3 separate regions of the Homo sapiens genome follow, and all the other regions are linked to region 1. The links are contacts of gene promoters, found by promoter capture Hi-C in human tissues and cell types (Jung and others, 2019). All regions are on one chromosome and are shown on one strand. Each heading gives the region's core, a stretch centred on a gene start or on the middle of the fragment in contact. The rest is flanking DNA. Distances are from core to core; before and after follow the strand shown. Region 1 holds the start of MAP3K6 (mitogen-activated protein kinase kinase kinase 6). Region 2 overlaps SLC9A1 (solute carrier family 9 member A1). Region 3 overlaps AHDC1 (AT-hook DNA binding motif containing 1).

What was found. The method cuts DNA at HindIII sites, captures the fragments that hold promoters and counts their contacts. A contact is called where the count stands out against the background at its distance.
Region 2: a contact is called between a fragment that was not itself captured here and the fragment with the promoter of MAP3K6 in region 1, in 6 of the 25 tissues and cell types used here (H1 embryonic stem cells, dorsolateral prefrontal cortex, heart right ventricle and 3 more).
Region 3: a contact is called between a fragment that was not itself captured here and the fragment with the promoter of MAP3K6 in region 1, in 2 of the 25 tissues and cell types used here (mesenchymal stem cells and pancreas).

The regions. Positions count from the first base shown.
Region 1 is chr1:27,364,716-27,368,738 of GRCh38, reverse strand. It overlaps MAP3K6 (mitogen-activated protein kinase kinase kinase 6), which reads left to right and starts at 1,778. Exons shown (of 29, transcript NM_004672.5): 1 at 1,778-2,481; 2 at 3,827-3,966. The coding sequence starts at 2,142. RefSeq lists enhancers at 912-1,853, 1,854-2,797 and silencers at 2,050-2,159, 2,190-2,409, 2,480-2,529, 3,120-3,189. The HindIII fragment of the contact is 34,431 bases long and covers 1-4,023 here.
Region 2 is chr1:27,125,948-27,129,970 of GRCh38, reverse strand. All of the region lies in intron 1 of SLC9A1 (solute carrier family 9 member A1), which reads left to right. Among named protein-coding and RNA genes, the nearest start is that of SLC9A1, 27 kb to the left of the region's middle. The HindIII fragment of the contact is 6,234 bases long and covers 1-4,023 here.
Region 3 is chr1:27,581,843-27,585,865 of GRCh38, reverse strand. The region is part of intron 3 of AHDC1 (AT-hook DNA binding motif containing 1); the gene reads left to right. Among named protein-coding and RNA genes, the nearest start is that of AHDC1, 20 kb to the left of the region's middle. RefSeq lists an enhancer at 3,892-4,023. The HindIII fragment of the contact is 4,137 bases long and covers 256-4,023 here.

The sequences.
Region 1 (4,023 bases), core at 529-3,028:
CTGCCTCCCAGGTTCACGCCATTCTCCTGCCTCAGCCTCCCGAGTAGCTGGAACTACAGGCACCCGTTACCACGCCCGGCGAATTTTTTGTATTTTTAGTAGAGACGGGGTTTCATCATGTTAGCCAGGATGGTCTCAATCTCCTGACCTCATGATCTGCCCTCCTCGGCCTCCCAAAGTGCTGGGATTACAGGTGTGAGCCACTGCGCCCGGCCGCTTTTTTTTTTTTTTTTTTTTTGAGATGGAGTCTTGCTCTGTCGCCCTGCCCAGGCTGGAGTGCAATGAGCCAGAGGGGCATACAGTGGAAGGATTAGAGGAGATCCAAGCATCCATTGACAATTTCCCGAGGCCCTCTGGGTCCTGCAAGTGGATGGCTTTGTGGCAGGAATTGCACAATTGCATAGCTTTTTTTTTTTTTGAGATGGAGTCTTGCTCTGTCGCCCCGCCCAGGCTGGAGTGCAATGGCACGATCTCCACTCACCGCAACCTCCATCTCCCAGGTTCAAGTGATTCTCCTGCCTCAGCTCCCAAGTAGCTGGGATCACAGGCAGGTGCCACCACACCCAGCTACTTTTTTTTGTATTTTTAGTAGAGACGGGGTTTCACCATGTTGGCCAGGCTGGTCTCGAACTCCTGACCTCGTGATCCACTCATCTTGGCCTCCCAAAGTGGGATTACAGGCATGAGCCACCGCCCTGGCTGGGAATTGCACAGCTTTCTCAGCCTGTCGGTTGCCCATGCCTGTCCTTTGTAAGTTGTCTGTTTTCCACTCCAGCCTCTGTTGCAGGCCAAGTTCTCAAACTCTACCACTTCCTGCCTATCTCATTGGGTGTCAGTTCGAATCCAAGGTCAAACCAAGGAAGGTACCTTTTTCTTCCACAAGGCAACAGGGCAATGAAACAGCCATTGAGTAGCATTTAAGCAGTTTATTTGCCCAAAGCCACATTCTAGTAAGTGGCAGAATTAAATAGTTAAGAGTCTGACAGGCGGTCCTGGGTTTGCACCCTGCTGTCATGTGCTGAGTGATCCTGGACAAGTTATTCAACTTAAGTCCCCAGTTCTTGGTTTCAGGGTCCACTGAGGCTTCTACCAGGTTGCTGCCTCACTCATTAATTCACACAAGAAAGTTGGGGACTCTTGGGGATTTGAAGCTGAGAAGCTGCTGTAGTGCAAAGGGCTGGGGTTGACTCCTTCAAGGGGTGGCTAAAGAAATGTTTAGAGTTGTTTAGAGTAGGAAGTGCTTCTCAGGTCCCATGGCCACGTTCTGCCTAGAAGTCAAAGGTCAGCGGGGGTCCACAGCAGGTTGGGTCCTGGGGAAAGCAGCCCCCTAGTGACAGTTAAGGCTCAGATGCCAAGTCCCACTCCAGGACTGAAGGCTTTCGGGCAAGCGGCCTAGGGTGTAGGTTTCCCCCATCCCAGTCCCTCCCTGCCTGCGCTCACTGGGCCCGGGAGGACACCCATTGTTCATCATGCTCTGCGCACCCTGATGTCTCTAGAGAGCCATTCATTCAACAGATACCTGCAGAGCAGGGCCTGCATATCGAACCTTTTCCCTAGCCCTGGCCTCCTCACACATTTTATGTGCACTTGCTGTGAGCAGTCCACAGTCTTTGGCGTGCACAGGGGCACAGGCTGTTCCGGAAGCCGCCAGTCTCCAAAGTTCTGGCGGGAGAGAAGGGAGGGGAGAGGCTGAGTCTCAAGCCGCTAGGGAGCGGCTCTGCCCCAGGGCCGAGGGTGGAGCTTTCTGGGTCGGCCGGGAAAGGGCTGGGCTTAGCCTACAAGTGAAGGCAGGGCAGCGTTGGCGGGCGCTCCCTTGAGAAGTCCAGGTGGCGGGCACCTCCGAGCCGATTCCCAGGATCCCCCAAGTGGCTCTGAGCTGCCGATCACCGGATGCCCCAGATTCCTGGGACCCAATCCCGGATTTCAGAACCTCAGGACCTTGCAAGTCCGAGCTAGGATTTCTCCCTGGACTTTAGATTCCTGGAACGGGACGTCAGGCCGTATTCCGGATCCCTAGATCCCGTGGGAGATTCTCCGATTCCGAACGGATTCCAGATCCCAAGATTCCTGATCTGCCGGCCCAGGCTCCTGCCCCGCCCCCGGTTCCCAGTGCGCGGCGCCCCGCGCCTGAGCGCCCCCGCATGGCGGGGCCGTGTCCCCGGTCCGGGGCGGAGCGCGCCGGCAGCTGCTGGCAGGACCCGCTGGCCGTGGCGCTGAGCCGGGGCCGGCAGCTCGCGGCGCCCCCGGGCCGGGGCTGCGCGCGGAGCCGGCCGCTCAGCGTGGTCTACGTGCTGACCCGGGAGCCGCAGCCCGGGCTCGAGCCTCGGGAGGGAACCGAGGCGGAGCCGCTGCCCCTGCGCTGCCTGCGCGAGGCTTGCGCGCAGGTCCCCCGGCCGCGGCCGCCCCCGCAGCTGCGCAGCCTGCCCTTCGGGACGCTGGAGCTAGGCGACACCGCGGCTCTGGATGCCTTCTACAACGCGGGTGAGAGCGCTGGGGGCGGGGCCGGATCCGGGCGGGACTCAGGGTCCTGGGAGGGGACCAAGCCGGGCTCGAAGGCTCAAGGGAGGGGCCGAGAGGGGTACCGGGTCTAGGGGACTTAAAGTGAGCTAAAGCTGAAGGGCTTGGGACAGGGCCGTGAAAAAAGTGGGATTTAGGGGATCTGGGGCGCGGCCGGGCTCGGGACGAGACAGGGATCCGGGCGCGGCTCTAGGGCTCGAGGTTGGGGCTTAGGCACCCTTCAGTCGGAGCGGTGCCCAGCCAGCGGGGCAAGGATGGGGAGGGGCTTTGGAACTCTGGGGCGGGGCGGGGAGCGGCGCGGGGCTGTGGTGTCTCAGGGGTGGGGTTGGAGAACTCAGCCTCACCCTCAGGAGAATGTCACGCGGATCTCTTGAGGACAATTACTGGGAGAGGAGCTTGGACTTAGGGAAAGGGGCCGGGAGGCTGGAGTTCAGGAGTCCTAGCATACTATTTCCAAGGATCGGGCTAGGAGAGGCAAAAAGAGAAGCGAAGGGGCCCGACGGGACTGGATACTGGGTGAGGGAGCTTAGGTTAAGTGGCCTCAGCGGCCCAGAAAGAATGGGCGGGGAAGGGGCGGGGAAGTGGGCGGGAAAGGATGGCTCAGGGGCGGGGCCAGAAGGAGGCTATTCCCCCGCGAGTCACTCCTCCCTCCAGCCAGCCCGGATGCTCGGCCCCCATACTTACTTGCTTATGCTAGAGTCCAGTAGCTGTGCTTCCTGGATGTCCATGAAATCGTAGCCTAAAATGAAGGCTGACCCGACCACTCGGACACAAAGATACAATTATCGACAGACACAAATCGCATACATGTTGACTCATGCAGGCCCTAGCAGACGCTGTCACACACACAGATACAGTCAGACATAGTAAGCTATACATGTCACAGATATACACATACATACATTTAGGCACAGCGTTGTCTATGCACACTGATGGTAGCCCCTTTCAAGAGCCTGTGCTGAAGACCAAAGGGAGGGGACTTCTATGTTTGCGCAACTCCCACCTCCTAAATGGCCCGTAACAGACTCAACTGGTCCACAGCCTCCCTTCCCCCATGCCAGGTGCTCACAGGCTCTGAACCGTGGCCTGAGGGTCCCAACCCAGTGAGCCCAACTCCTCTCCTGCAACACTACAGAGATCAGTTCTGTGAAAGTGCCAGGGGAACCCTAAAAAGGGCCGACTGAAGCCCAAAGCAGAACCAGACCCTACTGGAGTCCCACAGCAAGGCAGGTCAAGCCAGGATGGACCCCGGCTCCTTCCCCATCAAGCTGGGCTTCAGGGATCAGCGCCACCCCCTCTGTGCCTGCAGATGTGGTGGTGCTGGAGGTGAGCAGCTCGCTGGTACAGCCCTCCCTGTTCTACCACCTTGGTGTGCGTGAGAGCTTCAGCATGACCAACAATGTGCTCCTCTGCTCCCAGGCCGACCTCCCTGACCTGCAGGCCCTGCGGGTAGGTGGCCTGGGGCTGGTGGAGGCAGGCACAGGGCTGGGGTAAGGCCTACACAGA
Region 2 (4,023 bases), core at 609-3,108, 240 kb after region 1:
GCTCAGAGCTGCAGGCAGCATGGTTGGGGCCATGGCTCTGGAGTCAGACCATTTCTCTCTGCCCCGGTTTCCTCAGCTGTAGAATGAGGAGGGTGATCCCTGTGTCAGAGGGCTGCTAGGAGAATCGTGATTGAAGTATACAGAGCATCAAAGTGAGGCACTCAATAGAAGGTAGTTTAAAAAAAAGAAGTGGGAGTGGAATGGGGGGGTTGGCACCATGTTCCAAGCAAGGACCAGTTTTGGAGTGGACCATCCTGGGTGTGTGTGCCAGCTCTGCTACCACTTTGCTGTGTAACGTCAACCAAGTTCCGTCCCCTCTCTGGGCTTCATCCTTTGCATCTGTAAAATAGAGGGGTTGCACTGGATGGTCTCAGAGGGCCCTCCCTCTTCTAATCTCTGACTTCTTGCTGCCCCTCTTCTCCCACAGGAGAGAGCTGACCTCCCATTGCTGTTTCTAGAGCCCTGGGCCTTCCTGGCACCAGGACCAAGCCCTGCAGCTGGCCGTGTCCTCATCTTTTCTCTGCAGTGTCCTCTAAAGGGCAGCCTCCTCTGAGCATGCTCAGTTCTCCTATCCACTCTACATCTCGTGGCTCCTAGAGGCCTGAAGTGACAAACTATCCCCAGTGTGGTGGGAGAGGAGGCAGGGAGAGGCCCTCCAAGCATGCCCTGTCTCTCCCACCACACAGAGCCCAGCCAGCTGGATCGTTATCAGAAGTGTATGGGAGACCCTTAGGGGACCCCCTTGAGATAGAGGATCCAGTATCAGGAAAGCTCACCCATCTTGCTGGTATTGTGCAGGAGGCAGTGCCTGCTGCCCATGGAGCCTTAATGCTGTGCAGTTGGACAGCTTCCCCCTCAGGTGCCTGTTTAGGAGAAGCTCTTGCCTCCCTAGTGCTGCCAGCTTGCCTCTGGGACCCTGCCGCTGCTGGTTTCTGGGAATCTAGATCTGCACGGGAGTGTCTGGCATGCGTGCGTGCGTGCATGCATTTGTTTGTTTGTTTGTTTGTTTGTTTATGGAGTTTCCCTCTTTTTGCCCAGGCTGGAGTGCAATGGCGTGAGGATCTCGGCTCACTGCAACCTCCACCTCCTGGGTTCAAGTGATTCTCCTGCCTCAGCCTCCCAAGTAGCTGGGATTACAGGCATGCACCACTACGCCCGGCTAATTTTGTATTTTTAATAGAGATGGGGTTTCACCATGTTGGCCAGGCTGGTCTCAAACTCCTGACCTCAGGTGATCCGCCCGCCTTGGCGTCTCAAAGTGCTGGGATTATAGGCATGAGCCACCACGCCTGGCCTTTTTTTTTTTTTTTTTTAAAGACAGGGTCTCACCCTGTTGCCCAGGATAGAGTGCAGTTGGCATGATCTCGGCTCACTGAAACCTCAACCTCCCGGGCTCAGGTGATCCTCCCACCTCAGCCTCCCTAGTAGCTGGGACTACAGGTATGCACCAGCCATGCCCAACTAATTTTTAAATTTTTTGTAGAGATGGGTTTTGCCACGTTACCCAGGCTGCTCTCAAACTCCTGGGCTCAAGTGATCCTCTCGCCTCGGCCTCCCCCGCTGCTGGGATTCAGGTGTGAGCCACCTCCCCTGGCCTGGGCATATATTTTTGTTTTTGCTTTTTTCTGAGTGTTTCTGTCTCTGTTCTCTCCTCTTACAGCAACGCTGTGCCATAGACATTCTTTATCCCAATGTTAGAAAGGAAGAAACTGAGGTTCAGGGCAGTACCGTGATTTGCCTTATTAGGTCACAGAGAAGTTAAGATTTAGAATTGGGACAGAAACTACCTCCCTCATTGATGGACCAGAGCTCTTTACGCTGCCCGCTGCTGCCTCGTGCAAGCTTGCTATGGCACGAATGCTATTCTGTACCCAGATGCCACAGTTGCTGGCATGGACAGAGATGGTGAGTATCACAGAGCCCGACTTTGTCCAGCTGCAGAGTTCATCAGTCAGATGTCAGAGGTAGAGAGGCTCTCAACAAGCCCCCAAGGATGGAGAGACTGAGACCAAAGAGAAGCAACGGCTTGTTCAAAGCCCACAGAATGTTAGTGGCTGAGTCTAGACTGAAGCCCAGTTCCCCTGATCCCCAGCCTGGGCTTGACTCAGGCCTTTCTTTTCTCAGAATTGTAGTTTTCTGGTCTTTTGAGGCATTTGGAGGTAGGATGGAGGGGGTGCTCACCCATCCTGCTGGTATTGTGCAGGAGGCAGTGCCAGCTGTCCCTGGAGCTGAGACTAAATGGCTGTGCATTTGGACAACTTTGCCCTATGCCAGGTGCTGAGCCTGGGTGGCCAGCGCTGTCTCCCTTGACCACCTCCCTGAAGTGGCAGAATTTCATGTTGTTCCCCAGGCCAGAGCCCTCCAGTGGCTCTGCCTGGCTCAGCAGGGTGATTGGGAATTCTCTCCCTGCAGGGTATTTGTGGCCTTTCATAACTGGCCTTGGCTGAGCGCTGGATTGGGAGTCAGTAGTTCTGGGTTTGGGACCTGCCTCCGCTGCTACCCATGTGATCTTGGGCCTGTGTCTGGACCTCTCTCAATGTCTGTTCTCTCATCTGTTGCCCACTGCCAGGGCATGTTGTGAGGGCGAGAGAAAAGTCTGCTTTACAGCATCTAAGTAATGATTTCCACTCCAGTCCACTGCCATTTGCTCCAATAGAAAGCCTCTACCTGGGCTGGGCTCAGTGGCTCACGCCTGTAATCTCAGCACTTTGGGAGGCAAAGCAGGCAGATCTCTTGAGCTCAGGAGTTTGAGACCAGCCTGGGCAACATGGCAAAACCCCTATCTCTACAAAAAATACAAAAACTAGCTAGGCATGGTGGCACGCGCCTGTAGTCCCAGTTACATGGGGGGCTGAGGTGAGAGAATCACTTGAGCCCAGGAAGTCAAGGCTGCAGTGAGCCATGTTCGTACCACTGCACTCCAGCCTGGGCAACACAGCCAGACTCTGTTTTCCCTGCCCCCTCCCCCCGCAAAAAATAAATCTTCTACCTGTACCACACTCGTTTCCCTGTCCTGTCTTTCCAGATGCTGCTGATTTGCCTGCCAGGCCTTCTTGGTGCCTAACTCTCACCCTTCCTTCAAGGAAAAGGCCAATTCAGCTGGAGCTTAGTGTCCATGTGCTTAGTGCCAAACACTGGAGATTAAGTTAAACCCAAAAATATATACACAAAAGGGAAGGAAAAAAAGTTAAACCAGACATGACTTCTGCCCTCAAACAGTTCTGCTAGCTCAACAAGTCTTTATCCTTACTATGTGTCAGGCTCCGTGCTGAGGCCTAGAGAGTCAAAGATGAATAGGACAGGGTCCCTAGCCTTGCTTGCAGGTAGAAACTTGCTTGTGGTCTGGAGGGGGAGACAGACCAACCAGCTGTGCCGTGTCATCAGACTCTTAATAGAGGGCTGTGTGGTCCCAGGCTCTGCAGGCCACAGAACTGAGCGTGACTGGGTTCTGCTCCCTGGGGTATTTAGGAAAAACTGCTGAGCAGCACCTTGGAAGAGTGGCTCTCCAAGGGACAAGCTGATGGTGACCCCCCCGACAACATCTTGTGGTTCGCCCAGTGCTTTTGTGTTTGTGGTCTCATGTAATCCTCACAACCTTGTGAGGTCACTGAGGTAAGAGAAAGTCATCCATCCAGCAAACATTGATTGTGAACCTCCTGTGTGCCAGGTACAGCCTAAGGTGCCAGGGATACAACAGTGATTGGGACAGAGGCTGCCCTCACGAGGCTTATGTTCTGGGTGGGGAACGGTCAGAAAGCACATCTAGACGTCAGGAAGTGGCAAGGGTAAGCGGATAGAGAGGGTTGGGAGGACCTCTCTGGGGAGGTGGCATCTGAGCAGGGACCTGAAGGAAGGGAGGGAATCTGTCATTCACCTACATGGGGAATAGTGTCTCAGGCACAGGGAACAGCAAATGCAAAGGCCCTGAGGTGGGGGCATGTTTGTGCTCAAGGAAAAGCAAGGAGGCCAGTAGAGCTAGGGGACAGTGAGTGGAGATTCAGGTGTGGTGGAAAGACGCGGAGG
Region 3 (4,023 bases), core at 1,075-3,574, 220 kb before region 1:
GGGTCACATAGCAACTAAGCAGCAGGGCCTGAATTCTGGCCACAGTCTGATTGCATGGAAAGAGTTAACAGTTGGAGGAAGGGGAGGGGAAGTGGCTTGAGGACTAGGGTGGGGGGATTAGGTCAGAAGACTGATTAGGCCGGGAAATGGGGTCCTCTGCCTCTGGAGGATGTGGGGAGGAGGAGGGGGTCCCTGCCACAAGGGGCTTCTCGAAGGTGTGCAGTCTCTGCTACCTCTTCCCGTTTCCTTGTGTGTCTTCAGTTATCTGTTTGGAACAGGGGCTTTGTCACTAGCTCTGTACCCTACCACAGGAACCTTTCTAGAGCTAGGTGGAGCTCAACTTTTATTTATTTAACAAACATGTATATAGTGTTTACTATGTTCCAGATACTATTCCAACTTTATAAACAGATCTTCACTTAATTATTATTGCAGCCCTTTTATTAGTGTCTTTGTTTCATATATCAGAAAACTGAGGCATAAAAAGGTAAAGTGACTTGCCCAAGGTCACACAGTCAGTATGTGGTGGAGCCGCCCTTTGAACTTGGAAGGCTAGGATCCAGAGTCCTTGTTTGTTCATTTGTTCCTTCTTTTTTTTTTTTTTTTTTTTTTGAGACAGGGTCTTACTCCTGTTGCCCGGGTTGGAGTGCAGTGGAGCAGTCACGGCTCACTGCAGCCTCGACTTCCCAGGGTCAGGTGATTCTCTTCTCAAGTAGCTGGGACTACAGGTGTGCACCACCACACCTGCCTAATTTTTTGTGTTTTTAGTAGAGACGAGGTTTTGCCATGTCGCCCAGACCAAGTAGCTGGGATTACAGGCGCCTGCCACCACACCCGGCTAATTTTTGTATTTTTAGTAGAGACAGGGTTTTACCATGTTGGCCGGGCTGGTCTCGAACTCCTGACCTCAGGTGATCTGCCCACCTCGGCCTCCCAAAGTGCTGAGATTACAGGTGTGAGCCACCACGCCTGTCCTGTCCTGCCCCCTTGATGCCCTAAGTAGGAGATGGGAGCCCTGAATTCCTGGGGGATAAGGCATCTCTGGGGAGCCTCTAGTCTAGGCCGAAGGGGAGACCTAGCCCTGCCCTTCCCAACACTAAGTTTGATGGGGTGATAAGGCAGAGTGCTGTGGGGGAAACAGGCAGAGTGTCAGGCTGTGCCTCGCTAGGAGTGTGCAGATCAGTGGTTCAGAAGCCTCTATAGAGCACAGCTCACCCCGCTACAGTGCTGGCCACCAATGGGAGAGGTGGAAGGGTTGGCCTCAGAGAGCTTGCTGCCCAACTAACTGGAAAAACAAGGCTGATAGGTGTGGTCAATTCTCAACAGTGGGATAAAACAATAAGAGAAAAACATTGCAAAAAAATCATGTCATTTAAAGAATTTGGGCTTTGAATCCTGTGTGTCCTTAGTTACTTGACTCCTCTCTGAGCCTCAGTTTCCTCACCTGTTGAGGGGAAATAATAATGGCATTGATGCTATAGGGTTTTGTGAGGCTCAAATGAGATAAAACATGAAGGTTTAGCTTTGGAGCAGGGGCTCAGTGAGCATCCATCTAGATGCTAAGATCCAATACCTGGAGAAAGAAAGGGTCCCTCCCTGGGGTTGGCATCAGAGCAGATAAGGATGGGAATGGTGAGGATGGAATGGGCAGTGAGCGTCCCGACTTTGGAGTCAGACGGCTTGGGTTTAAATCCCAGCCCCTGGGAGCTGCTTTCCCTCTCTGGGCCTTGATTTCCTTGTCTGTAAAATGAGTATAATACTAGTTCTCCTCTCCTCCATAGGGTGTTGTGAGGATTAAATTAGCTAATTAATTTATTCAACAACTAATATGAAGCACCTGCTGGGTGCCAGACATGTTTCCAGTCACTGCAGATCATAAGGGGTCATGTTAGCAATCTTATTGTTACCACCATAATCTGGAAAGAGGGGACAACTGCTTGGGAAGGAGGCAGAGAGGAGGCTGAAGCCTTCAGAATGGAGATAAGTGAAATGATAAGATGCTATAGAAATAATAAAGAGCTGATACTTAGTGGTTACTATGTGCCAGGCACATTTGCTCATGAAGCAGGGGCTCATATTATCCTTATTTCACAGATAGGAATCGGGTTCAAAGAGGTACAGTGACATGCCCAAGGAAACACAGCTAATAGGGAGAGGGTGGAGCTGCAGTGTGAGAGACTCAAAAGCCACACTATTAGTCACAAAGCTTTAAACCTGATTAAGAGACGGGTTAGGGGTGAGGGCATTGATCCAGCAGAGGAAGGAGGGAGAGACCTGGCCAGGAGAGGGACAGGGGGAATAGAAAGGAAGGACAGAGGTGGGCAAGGCCTTCAACTTCAGGAAACAATTAGAGAATGAACCAAATCAACATACACTCCCCGAGTGGGTTTTCTCAGCAATAAACAACAAGACATGAGCTCAGGGAAGGGAACAAGTGAAGTCTGGAGGGAGGGCTTCCCAGAAGAGGTGAATCTTGAGAAATGGGTAGTTGAAAGAGATGGGGGAGCCAGAGCATGCCAGGCAGGGTGCCGGGCACCAGCAAAGGCCCTGAGGTGAGAATGAACGCGGCTTAGGGCTCAGAAGTGGGAGGAAATTGCTGAGTGAGATCAGGATGAGGATTGGGAGGGCTGGTGGCCTCAAGGACATAGGGAGGGTGACAGATTCGAGAGGCTTAGCTAATGTAGAAATAGAAATAAACGGCCAGGCATGGTGGCTCACGCCTGTAATCCCAGCACTTTGGGAGGTTGAGGTGGGCGGATTACCTGAGGTCAGGAGTTCGAAACCAGCCTGGCCAACATGGTGAAACCCCATGTGGTGGCAGGCACCTGTAATCCCAGCTACTCGTCAGTCACTTGAACCCAGGAGGCGGAGGTTGCAGTGAGCCGAGAGTGCGCTATTGCACTGCAGCCTGGGTGACAGAGGAAGACTCCGTCTCAAAAAAAAGAGAAATAGAAATAAACCCCCATCTGGACAGAAACTACAGTATAGTGATCAAGAAGGCAGGCTCTGCAGTCCAATCCTAGCTAAGTTGTGTCCCACCATGTGAACAGGGCAAGTCAACTGAACATCGCATCTCCAAAACACAGGGTCATCAAAGTACCTGACCCCTCCGATGAGATGCTCTGTGAGGAGTGCTTAGCACAGTGCCTGCCATGCAGTAAGCACTTGACTCATGCATTCATTCCTTAACCATCAAGTGCACACTTGATGTCAGGCACTTTTCTAGGACACACAGCAGTGAACAAAACAGACACAAATCCCTGCCCTCAAGGAGCTTACATTTAGAGGGTAAAACAGACAGTTAATGTAAAAACAAGTGAAATAAATGGTCGTTAGATGGTGATATGTACCAAGGAGGAAAATGAATCAGAGAAGGGGCATTGGGCATGCCCACATTACAGGGTTACTGCAGTTTTAAATCAATGTACAGATGGAGGCTGTTGTTACTCTTATTTGTATAGCAGGTTTTAGTAGAAAAAGCACCTTCCAGTTTACAAGGCAGTTATTCCTTGTGAGAATCAAGTGAGATACAGGTATTGCCATCCCAATTTTATAGATAAGGACAGTGTGGCTTGAAGACAACAATCTGACTGAGTCAAGAGTCATGACTTTGAGGACAGTGCTATACCTGCTAACTCCCTGTGGGATTCGCTGTTCTGTTCCTGAAAGTCTAGAGGATAGATGAAAAGAGATGATGGGAATTGGAGGGGTGTGGGCAGTGCCGAGGTGGGTCAATGTCCAGGGATGGAGCTGCGCTGGAGAGCAGGGGCAGAGGCCTGTTTCCTGGAGCCAAGCCTGGCCAGCTTCTGCTGGTCTGGCGGAATCAGGGTGAGTTCAGAGGTTGGCTGGACCCAGAGGCAATCCCAAGGGCATAGCAGGGGAGGCCTGAGACACTGTGTGATTGAGCAAAGGGGCAGAATCTGTCCAGAACGGAGTGAGTGTGTGGGTGGTGTTGAGACTCAGGGGAGGGGAAGAGAGGAGAGGAAGAAGTCAGCCCCGCTGACCAGATGAGAGAGAACAGCC